2 separate regions of the Homo sapiens genome follow, and region 1 is linked to region 2. The links are contacts of gene promoters, found by promoter capture Hi-C in human tissues and cell types (Jung and others, 2019). All regions are on one chromosome and are shown on one strand. The core of a region is centred on a gene start or on the middle of the fragment in contact, and the rest is flanking DNA. Distances in the headings are between cores, read along the strand shown. Region 1 overlaps ZNF609 (zinc finger protein 609). Region 2 holds the start of RBPMS2 (RNA binding protein, mRNA processing factor 2).

Evidence for each region. Contacts are between HindIII fragments. The study calls those that stand out against the background at their distance.
Region 1: a fragment that was not itself captured here is called in contact with the fragment with the promoter of RBPMS2 in region 2 in 2 of the 25 tissues and cell types used here (IMR-90 fibroblasts and spleen).

The regions. Positions count from the first base shown.
Region 1 is chr15:64,501,954-64,507,804 of GRCh38, forward strand. All of the region lies in intron 2 of ZNF609 (zinc finger protein 609), which reads left to right. Among named protein-coding and RNA genes, the nearest start is that of ZNF609, 44 kb to the left of the region's middle. The HindIII fragment of the contact is 8,439 bases long and covers 1-5,851 here.
Region 2 is chr15:64,772,518-64,778,668 of GRCh38, forward strand. It overlaps RBPMS2 (RNA binding protein, mRNA processing factor 2), which reads right to left and starts at 3,072. Exons shown (of 8, transcript NM_194272.3): 1 at 2,716-3,072. The coding sequence starts at 2,802. RefSeq lists enhancers at 2,933-3,779, 3,780-4,625 and a silencer at 3,248-3,497. The HindIII fragment of the contact is 13,175 bases long and covers 1-6,151 here.

The DNA.
Region 1 (5,851 bases), core at 1,465-3,964, 270 kb before region 2:
TATAATTGGGCTGAAAGATGCAGTATGTTCAGCTAAGAATACATCCTGGTGCCAGGGAGTTTTGTCCCTTAATAATGTTGCTTTGCCATATAAGCTTTGCCTCCCAGGGAGACTCTGAGAATGGGGCAGCAGAATGAGAAAGAAAAGGGAAAGAGACTGTGCTTCAGTTTTTGAAAGATAGAGAAAATTGCTGGCAATTACTTTTAGAAGCAGAAAATTTGCTATACAGTTTCATGTAACCATAAGCAAGAACCTGCTTTCTCAATTCCTTCCCCTGTTCCCTCAACCCTTTTGGACAGTCTGGTCCTGAGGGTGCCTTTCCATATTACCTTTGGCTATTGAAATAAATAATTATTTAAATAAATGTTTGGAAGTTGCTAGGAGATTAAAACATGCTGTGCAGGGAGAGAACATTTCTGGACTGGGAGGAGCAGAAGAGGCAAGTTAAAGGAAAGGAAGTTAGGAACCATGCAGAGGAGCGGTTTTTGAGAAACAACAATCTCCGGTTTGGGGCATAATAGGTGCTCAGTGAGTATTTGATGATTAGTACTATAATTTATAAGCAAAGTCTTTGAAAACTTCTTTAAAATTTTCTCTCTGAGAAATGGGCTTGCCTGTGGTTTGGGACGTTTCTATGTAGGGATAACAAACAGAACCAAAATAGCAAAACAGATGTTTTGATATAATCTAAGAATTGCATCCTCTCAACTGGGAACTGTCATGAAGAGGAAGAACTCATAAAATTTGGGAAGTTTCTTGACTGAATTCTGTGGTGCAGAGTAGCAGTGTTGACTACTAGCCAATGAGGAAGATTTGAATATTGAAATTACTGGCTGGGCCTGGTGATTCATGCCTGTAATCCCAGCACTTTGGGAGGCCTAGGTGGGCAGATTGCTTAAGCTCAGGAGTTTGAGACCAGCCTAGGCAACATGGTGAAACCCTGTCTCTACAAAAATTAGCCGGGCATTGGTGGTGTGCACCCGTAATCCCAGCTACTGGGGAGGCTGAGGTGGAAGGATAGCTTGAGCCTGCGAGGTGGAGGTTGCATTGAGCTGAGACGGCACCACTGGACTCCAGCCTAGGCAATAGAGCCAGACCTTGTCTCAAAAAAAAAAAAAAAGAAAGAGAGAAATTATCTATCTCATGTTCTTCTTTGTGAAGGTAGATATCTCAGGCTATGGCCTGGGAAATTTTCTGTCAGACAAGGATGTGGATTTCCCTTCATGGGATCCCACTTTTGCTCGACCATACCTTCCTCTGACAGAGTGAGCTCTGTGCTGTTTCCCAGAGTTCTAGGAGAGACCAGAGATGGCTCTTAGCAACTGCTGCTGCTCTGAATTGTTATTGAACACTTCTGCCTCATACTTCCTGCCAGCTGAAGAGATGGGGGAGGGAATGTTGAGGAATAAACAAGACAGAGCCTTCCAGCTCTTGCCTGTTCCCTTGCCTTTAGTTTGATTGATGGATTGTTAAGTTAGGGATGGAAGGGGAGGTAGGGAGGAGGGCAGGCGCCTGTCTGAGTGTCCTGAGCTTAGTGCTTATGTCGCCACTCTGACAGGCAAGAAAAAAGGAATTTACAAACCACAGATGGCAACGATCTATCTGTGCTGACTTTGTCAGGGCTTACGACCAGGAGTTTAAGGTGAGACTCCTTCTTTTCCCCCAAATCATATAAAATAGCCAAGTAGGCTCTAGTAGTTAAAGAAAGGATCTAGAAGTTTCTAACCAGAAGCTCCCCCTCACATGTCTTTAGCTGCTGCTTTTGATCTTGCAAGGTAGGAACACTGCACTTTGCTTTTCCCGTGTTTGAATGTCAGCTTCTGCTGCTTTCAGAATGCTGCATATATTTACCACTTCCCCCATTAGTTTAGGATACAAAGAAAACCATAAAGTGTGCTCTTTGCTCTTTCAACTTCTGATCATGCATGCTATCATATCCTGTGTTCTTAAGAGCATCTTCCTTTGCCATTGGTTTTGTATTCCTGCCCTAATTTGTGCCTTCTAGCTTAGTTCTCTTGTATTGTAGTCCCTCATTGCCTAACCAAGGTCAGGTCTCTTTTATTCCTTCTGATCCAAGGCTTTCTTAACGCCTTCTTCCACTAGCTGTTATTTCTCAGCTATTGATGGCAGAGCAGTCAGCTTTGCTTCCTGAAACCAAATGCCCTCAAGATTTTCCTTCATGGAAAACATTAAAAAGAAGTTGATATTTATGTGGGACAGAGTTGCATTCTGTAACTACAAGCTTAATTTATTTTTTCATTCAGAAACTCTGTTTTCCTTCTAGGTGTTGTAATTCAAGGCAGTTCCAGAGAAAGATTATCTTGTCCAATTTCCTCATTTTATAGAAGAAACTAAGACCAGTGAAGTCCTGTGACTTGCCCAGCATCTCACAGGTAGTCACTGGCAAAGCCAGATTTGTAGACACCAAATTCTTATGGCATGTTGTTACTCTGGGATTCTTAACAAATCTTTAACTGTCAGGAAGGATTCTCAATTTTCCCACTTTATTTGTTATTTTCTTAGTATTATTATTTTCGAGATGGAGACTCACTCTGTCACCCAGGCTGGAGTGCAGTGGCACGATCTCGGCTCATTGCAGCCTCTGCCTCTGATTCAAGCGATTCTCCTGCCTTAGCTCCCCGAGTAGCTGGGATTACAAGTGCATACCACCATGCCTGGCTAGTTTTTTTTTTTTTTTTTTAATTTTAGTAGGGATAGGGGTTCACCATGTTGGCCAGGCTGGTCTCAAATTCCTGACTTCAAGTGATCCACCTGCTTCGGCCTCCCAGAGTGCTGAGATTACAGGCATGAGCCACCACACCCAGCCTATTTGCTTATTTTTAAGGCAGGGTCTCGCTATGTTGCCAATGCTGATCTTGAACTCCTGGGCTTATGCACTTCTGCCTTGGCCTCACTTATGCACTTCTGCCTTGGTCTCACTTATGCACTTCTGCCTTGGCCTCGCAAGTAGCTGGGACTACAAGTGTGTGCCACCACACCCAGCCATTTTTTCAATGTAAAGACTACCTTGAAACATTAGATGAAAATGCTTACATACTCCAAAATTGCTTTTACCCCAAAACTGCTTTCACTTGTTTTTCACAGTGACTTTAACATTGTAGACACTCAATAAACAAAGGATCTTTGAGTTTAGGATTTTAGGTAAGGTAATGAATGATGTTTGCAAAGAATAACCATTACAGCTGGCACTGAACCTATCCTGTTATTTATAAAGAAGGAAAGTTACTTTAAAACTGCTACTTTGAGCTTGACTACTTATGATATATGTGTGTGTGTTCTGGAATATTTCATCCAGCCAAATTTTCATTATAATAATTGAGGAATAGTTCTTTCTTTACTTGGCAATTGCAGGTAAGAAAAAAAACCCTGTTCTAGTGCTTCTTCCTTGGACACATCACTAATAGGCAGACCTTCAAATGTATTGTGGATATTACTAAGTATTTTGTAGAGAAGATATACTGTTGGCTAATTGTTATCACTTTTCATTCAGTCAGTACATTAATTGAATGCATTTTAGATACTAGGTTTTCTACTTGGTATTGGGTATACACTGGTAAATAAAACAGAGATGGTCTCTGCTTTTTGAGGAGCTTACAGTTTACCGTCTACAGCAGAGTTCCTAAAAGTGTGTCCCATAAAACCATGTACATCACCAGAGTATCAAAAATGCACATTCTTGGACCCTACCCTAGATATGCCGAATAAGTTTTTGGGGTAAGGGCCCAGAAATCTGTACTTCCAGAAGTCTCTCCAGATAATTGCTATATACATCAAAGTTTGAGAATTTTCCTTTCAAGGTAAGTATTCGGGGCCACTTCTCATTTAAAACACCAGCCTTCTAAACTTGAATTTCACATCAACTCTTATGTATAATTTAGTGGCTAAAAGCGTAAACTCTAGCCAGGCCTCCTGGCTTGAGCCTGGGAGGTTGAGGCTGCAGTAGTGAGCTGTGATCGCACTAGTGCACTCCAGCCTGGGCAACAGAGTGAGACTCCGTCTCAAAAAAATAATAATAATAAATTTTTTAAAAAGTGTGAACTCTGGAGCCAGACTACCTGGCTTTGTTTCCTACCTTTGCACTTATTTACTGAGTGATCTTGACCAAGTTTCTTAATTGTTCTTCCTCAGTTTTCTTATCTGCAAAATGAGAGAAATAGCACCTACATAAGTTTGTATTTATTTATTTATTTATGAGAGGGAGTCTCACTCTGCCGCCCAGGCTGGAGTGCAGTGGTGCAGTCTCTGCTCATTGCAACCTCTGCCTTAACCTCCAGAGTAGCTGGGATTACAGGCATGCACCACCATGCCTGGCTAATTTTTGTATTTTTAGTAGAGACAGGGTTTCGTTGTGTTGGCCAGGCTGGTGTCGAGCTCCTGGGCTCAAGTGATCCACCCGCCTTGGCCTCCCAAAGTGCTGGGATTACAGGCATGAGCCGTCACACCCAGCCTTTAAGTTTGTCTTTAGGCCGGGCGCGGTGGCTCACGCCTATAATCCCAGCACTTTGGGAGGCCAAGGCGGGTGGATCACCTGAGGTCGGGAGTTCGAGACCAGCCTGACCAACATGGAGAAACCCTGTCTCTACTAAAAATACAAAATTAGTCGGGCGTGGTGGTGCATGCCTGTAGTCCCAGCTACTCAGGATGCTGAGGCAGGAGAATCACTTGAACCCGGGAGGCAGAGGTTGCAGTGAGCTGAGATTGTGCTGTTGCACTCCAGCCTGGGCAACAAGAGCAAAACTCTGTCTCAAGAAAAAAAAAAAAGTTTGTCTTTAGATTAAGTTAGCTAATTCATATAAAACACTTAGTGCCTGGCACGTAGGAAGCATTCAATAAATATTAGAAAAAAGAAAAATACAGTTTGAGTGGAAATTGGTCTTAGTCTCTCCTAGGCAATAATGTACTGAAATACAACAACATTCCACTTTACAGGAATCCCAGTATGAATAGATATACATGTTAGCTAAGACTTTTTAGCACTATGGTCTGAAGAAGTTCCAAATCTAGGCTGGGAAATTTTCATGGTGGTGATGTGTTCTAAAGCCCCTGATAATTATAGTTGGAGGTGGGGGGAAGACCAAAAATTAGCTTAGGGCATATTGAAGTGGCCTGTTGAATTTCAGACTTCATATGAATCGAGCTTCTTTTCTGGCCATATCCCTGGCATGGGGTTGGGTATGTTGGATAGATGTTACTGTGGTTTTGCCGGAATATGCAATCTCACGGACACTGGAGTAGTGCTAAGTGTTTTTGTTTCTACACAAGACTGCATGGAAAAAATCTAAGTCTTAGCCCTTAATCTTCCTCCCCCAGTGTGAACTTGTATTTTTGCCATTTGGGTATAAGAGCTTTTACCAGCAGAGCTCATCCAGGGAGGCAGCAGGGCTTGGGATGTGGCAGTAACATACACAGCTGAGATCCTGCCACTGCTGGCTGTCTGAGCCCTCTCTCTGTGGTTTTCACTCTTCAAGCCATGCTTGAGTAACCCGCCTCCAGAGCTGCTGACAGGGCTGTGTTCAGAGGCCTTGGAAATTACACTGTTCATTTCCTTATCATCCCCTGACCTGCAGTGCAGAGCCTTCTGGTGCAGGAACAAGGCAGAAAAAATCCAGACGGCTCCCAGCCAGCATGTGTCAAGAGCTACAAAGAAGGAAATTGGACTTGCTCACTTAAAAACCATGGGGTTAGGCTTTGATTTTCAGTTCCTGTGGAGAGTTATTTGTGTGTATGAGCATGTTGTATCTCTGTGTATATGTATAGAATGAGTCTGTGCGTGGCAAAGCTGTGGAGGAGGACCATTTGAAATAGAGAGCAGAGGGAAGATGGCTTTTCT
Region 2 (6,151 bases), core at 1,822-4,321:
CTGCCCTAATTCCAAACTCTCATTATGGCTGCACTGCCTGATATTGCTGCAATATAGCAAACTCCAGGTAGTTACCCAAACAAGCCATGTGGTTACACAAACCTACCTCCTCACTTATACATGCGACTCCCTCCTCTTGGAATGCCTTTTCCACCCCCACAGGTCTAACCTTGCTCCTCCTACTCACCCACATCTCAGGGAAGGCTGACCTCTAATCTCTCAGGAGCACCATGGTACCATGTGCTCATATGCCTTTATTTTATCTATCATTGCATTTCACCTACCACCACTTCCTGGCAAGTCCTTCCGACCTCCTAGGCTGAGAATTTTCACTTGTATCCTTAACCCCTGGGTCCAGAAAGAAAACTTAATGCGTATGACATGGATAAAGCCTATAGGTAAGGTAGTCAAGCAGGCAGAGTCAAGGCTATCCAAAGCAGTTCAGGACAAGCAACCTCACTGATAACTCCCAGAACCATGAAAAATACACTCCCTTCGCCAGTGACCCAGCGCCTTTAGGAATTGAGGTCTTACGGCGTGCAGCAGCATTCCTTGGTTTCCTGGGCTTGCTCTCGCTAGTCTCCAAGAGTTGACTGGGAAGAAGCCACCTGTGTCAGCCATGGGAGTAAACCACTGCTAACGCTGATTCTCCAGATGGTTGCTCTTAGGGGCTGCAGAACTGACTGCTTAGGGAGCATCTAAACTACAGGGAGGATTCCAGTTCCAGCCTACACCACCAATCCAAGATGGAGCCACCAGCACAGGGGCTCATGGCCCACTATTCAGAAGACTAGGCCAGGGCTTGGGGAATAACCCTTTCCCTTACCAGACCAGACAGACACTGGGCTCCAGGAGACCCTCAGAACCCTTTGTTCTGGACCTCTGCTAAACGCGAGCCCACCATGCCCTTTTCCAAGTGCGCGGATTTGGAACCACCATAGGGCCGCAGGCCATCTCAACTCCCAAGGAGGAATAGTAGGGATTCCACTTTTTGAGAATCCTGCCCTCTTTCCCAGAAAAGGTACTTAGAAAGGAGTGGCTAAAACCTCAAATGCTTTTTTCAAGACTTAGAATGGCCACATGGGTCACCCTTCTCACCCAACAGCAGTGGGTCTGAGGGTTTGCCCAGTACCAGCCTCTTGGGCAGTGTGAAGTCCCCACTGAAGTAGACCCTTTAGCAGAAGTGGGGTTCTGGGTCCCCATTCAGCTTTATAGGAGACATGCTCTCCCCCAGTTTCAGCCCACAGCAGGGGGCCAAGCAGAGACTCCAAGTACGCTAGCAACCCTGTCACCCTCCCCAACTGTCAAGGGAGATTCTAACAGCCAGGTAGAGTCAGGATGGGGGCAAGATCCCCAAAGCCAAGGGCCTTTTGGCATCAAGGTACAAGGAGGGCAAGGCCTCTGGAGCCCAAACAAATCCACCACACTTAAGTCATTAGTGGACAGATGTCACAGTTGTATATTCTTCCCTTCCCCTTCCGCCAAAAAGTGGAGATCCAAACCTAGATTGTCATCGACTGGGGCTGGCTGAAGGTCTCTGAATAGCCGAGTGGGAGCTGGCGGCGCTGAGCCCAGCCCAGCCGAGGGCCACCGGCGCCATTCTGCACCAACCCCCAGCACAAGGGGAGGAGGCAACACCAGTCCACACCAGGGGCTCTGCGGTTTCTCCCCCAGGCCAAGGGGAAGGGCGCCCAAGGTGGATAACCAGCCCTTGGTTTCCTGGGCGAGAACATGCCAGGGCAGGGGCAGGAAGGCTCTCTCACCCCTAGAATGACGCAGCAGAGGCCAGAGGCCCTGCGAAGCCTGTCCCCTTCTACTCCAGTTCTTGTCTCCGCCAGCCTAGCTCCTCGTCCCTATTCACTGATATCTTTGAGGCTTTTATCCAGCACCCCACCCCGCACACACATCCTCCCTACCATCCATTAACCACCCAGCTGCTGGTGGTTCCACGGAGCCGCCTTACACTCCCTCCCTTTCGCACATGGCCGGTGGACGAGATGATTTCGCCCCTCCTGGCAGGATCCCACCCAGGCCAGCTTTGGGGTCCTGGCTTGGTTGCCAGGACAAACCCAGAGAGAGGAGAAGGACGAACTGAGTGTCTTTAGTCATCTTCCAAACTAATTAAATTGTGGGCTCACCTCTGCCAAAGCCCAGGTTCTGGGGCTGTGAAGAAAGCCCGCCCACCCCCATGACAACAGCTCGCAGGAACCGAGGAGCCGGCCGGCCCAGGCCTCCAAGGTCACGGGGAGGGGGTCAGGGCGGAAAAGGCAGTGGAGTGAGGGTGCCGCCCTCGGGCCGTGCTAATCCCGCTCCGCTCCGTGCCGCCGAGGCGGGGTCCTGGCCACGCAGGAGGTGCGCCTCGGAGGAGGGCGGCGAGCGGCTACGGGGTGGGGAGCAAGGGGCGCGCGGGCGGCAGGCATGGAACGGACGCGGCGCATCTCGCCCACCGCGGGACGCCCGGACGGCGGCCGGCGCGCGCGGCCCGCCTCGAGCCCGAGAGGGCGGGGAGACAATGCCTGTCCGGCGGGGCAGTCCAGGCCGCACGCTCCCGCCCGCGGACACGGGCCGCTCCTACCCGGGCGAGAGGGCAGCGGCGGGAAGGCGCCGGGAGCGATGGCCACCCCGGCCCCGCGAGGCGCGGCAGGCCCCGCTCGCCCTCTCCCGCGCCCGCCTGGCGTGCGCTTCACCCGGCAAGTCCCGGGGCCACAGACCCACCTCCTCCTCCAGGGCGCCGCCGGAGCCCGCGCCGGAGCCGGTGCCGGTGCTGCCGCCGTGCTCGCCGTCCGGCTTCAGGTTGCTCATGGTGCGGGGGAGGGGGCGGCGGGAAGGAACGCGAGGGCGAGCGCGGCGCCGGCCCCGCGGGAAGTGGGAAGGGGCGCGGGGAGCGGTGCGCTCGCGGGTGCGGAGCGGGTGGCGGGGGACCCACGGGGCAGTGAGAGGGGCAGCCTCCGCGTCGGGCCAGGGTCACATCAAGTTTGGCGGGTGCGGAAGGTGGGGAGGGGGTGCGGCGGGGGAGGCAGTGGGAGCCGGAGGGGCCGCCGCCTCCGCCTTTTCACTGCGACCGGCGAGTGCGCCGCGGCGGCGGCGGCGGCGGCAGCGGCGGCGGGGGGCGGGCGCCGGGGGAGGGGGCGGGCGCCGGCGGCGGGGGGCGGGGCCGGAACCGGCCTCAGCTGGGGCCCGGCCAGCCCCCTCCCCCGCCCGCCGCGCGGTCTCCGGGGGAACGCGCAGCCAATCCCCACCGCCCACCGTGGGCTCGCCCCGGCCCCGGCCGCGGGGCGCCGGCCTCCGGCCGGGCCTTTCCCCTCTCTCTCGCCTGGGTCAGCGCTCTCCCTCTCTCCTCTTCCCCCGCGCCCTTCTCCACGGCGAGTTTTTAAACTTTGATGAACTCGCCCGGCGAACTTTCTTAAAGGGGCCGCGCGCTGCGCGCCCCAGCCCGCGGGAGGTGGAGCCCCGTGCCCCGCACCCAGCGCCCCGGTCCCTGGGCGGCCCTGCCCGGGCGGCCTCGCGCTTAGGGCACCCGCAGCGAGGTTTCCGGGCCGTCGACTCCCCTTGTATCTTGATCTAGGGTTTTGGGGTTCCCGACGCACTCATTCTGCCCCTAAATCCAGTCGCGCAGACCTCAGCTCCGGGGGACCGAGTTCTGGGGGTGATGGCCGGGGGGAGGGGGTTGGGAGACACCTGAGCTTTGGCCCGGGCTGGGCGCTGTTTTGCTGAGTGACCTTGAGGAAATCACTTCCCCTCTCTGGCCTCAGGCTCCCAGCCCAGAGGGTGGGACTTAGGATCTCAAACTCCCTTCCCACTCCCAGTCACTATCTGAATAGGACTTAGGTGGGGATTCGAGTGTTGGGACCCCAATGGTCATTAGCGAGGGCTGCCTCGAATGACCAAGAAGGTTCTGTTGCCCACCTTGCCCTCAACACGCCTGGCTTTCGGGTCTTCTCGCTCCTCCCCCGACCTCAGTGCCCCTCACACCTTTCCCTGCCTCCTATTCTGAGCCCGAAGGCTGGGGACGGATGTAATAGCCTAGAGGCTGGGGGAGGTGGGGGAGGTCGTCGTGACTCCCCCCGCACCCCCGCGCAGGTCAGTAGGGCGCGGCCTCTGGGTCGGTTTTCTCTTCTATTTGAAAACCCAGCCGATGGGGGCCCGCCCTGCTGCCACAGTAGAAACCCGCACCCACCTCGGGGAGCGCTGGAAGCGCTGCAGCCTGAATCCGGCAGAGCCGCGGGAGAACTGGGTCCCTCCTCAGTGCCCCTTCTCCTGGACGGGGCGGAGGTTGCGGTGACCCGAGATCTTGCCATTGCACTCCAGCCAGGGCAACAAGAGCGAAACTCCGTCTCAAAAAAAGAAAAGAAAAAAGAAAAGCTGGATTTGCAGTCACGGACTGGTTAGGATCCCAGACCGTGGACAAGTGCCTGAGCCCCCAGAACCTCTGTGTGTCGACCTCCTGAATTAGGTAGGACTAGCACCACAGGATCACTGTGCTGTGGCTTAGTCTTCCCAGTAAATTATAATCTCCATCCTGACCTGCCATCTCACAGATAAATTGAGGCCTAGAGATGGGCAATGTCTTTCCAATGATATACTCATTCCTTTAGTAAATAATTATTGAGCACCTACTGTGGGCTGGGGACCATTTTCTGCTGGTGGCAAGGCCAAGAGCACCCTGGTTTCCCATCAGCCCTGTTGCCAACACTTGGCTCAGGCCCTATGAAGAGGGAGCTGCTGCCTGTAGGAGCCAGACCTTTACCCAGAGTTTTTAAGATGCCTCCAGCCTCAGGCATCTCCAGATAGAACCAACCTTGGGAACCCTCAGATACCCCTACCATCCTCCACAGGCCTCAGTCCAATCTGGCTGTGGGCTTGATCACCATCCCCTCCCCTAGAATAGGTCTTCCTATCAGGTTTGTCTCTAACTTTGGCCCAGGAATACTCTTCCTCTTCCTCTTCCTCCCCCGCTCCCCCTAATCAATCCAAAATCTTCCCTTCCCTCAAGATCCTGCCTTTCCCATGCTTTTTCCAGGAGAAGGAGCCTGGCCAGATTTCTGAACTCAGCCATTATATGGTTAATTTGAATTTTTCAAAGAAGAGCCTCTCATCTTGTAATTCTGGTCACCCTTCTTCTCCATTCTGGTCTCTGTTTTCTCCATAGATGGGAGAGCTAAGGCCCAAAAAGGTGACAAATGACACAGGGGCCACAACTGACCCCCATCACTACATTTCTTTTCTTTTTTCATTTTTTTTTTTTTTGTTTTGGGGGCTTTTTTGAGATGCAGTCTTGCTCTGTTGCCAGACTGGAGTGCAGTGATGCGATCTCGGCTCACTGCAACCTCCACCTCCCAGTTTCAAGCTATTCTGCCTCAGCCTCCTGAGTAGCTGGGACTACAGGAACGCACAACCACGCCCAGCTAACTTTTGTATTTTTAGTAGAGACGGTTTCCCCATGTTGGTGAGGATGATCTTGATCTCTTGACCTTGTAATCTGCCCCCATCAGCCTCCCAAAGTGCTGAGATTACAGGCGTGAGCCACCGCGCCCGGCCTTCTTTTCTTTTTTTAGAAAAAAGATCTTGCTCTGTCACCCAAGCTGGAGTGCAGTGGCACAATCACAGCTCACTCCAGCCTTGAACTCCTGGGCTCAAGTGATCCTTCTACCTCAGCCTCCCAGGTAGCTGTGATTACAGGTGCAACACCACGCCCAGCTAATTTTTTTTTTTTTTTTTTAAGAGACTGGCCTCTCATTATGTTGTCCCAAGCTGGTGTTGAACTCCTGGGCTCAAGTGATCCTCCCACCTTGGCCTCCCAAAGTGCTGGTATTATAGGCGTGAGCCACCACACCCAGCCTGTATTTCTTCTTAAGTTCTTCATAATTTGTAGTAAATGCTTACCCCTTATTAGACTGCCATTACTTATTTAACCTGTCTCTTGTTAGATATTTGTATTATTTCCAGTTTATTTTCTCTTTTGCCTTCATAGGCAAACTTTATATGAGGATTCTTTTTTTTTTCTTTTTCTTTGAGACGGAGTCTCACTATGTCACCAGGCTTGAGTGCAGTGCATCCTCCATCTCCCAGGTTCGAGCAGTTCTCGTGCCTCAGCCTCCTGAGTAGCTGGGATTACAGGTGCCTGCCACCACACTCGCTGTCACACCTGGCT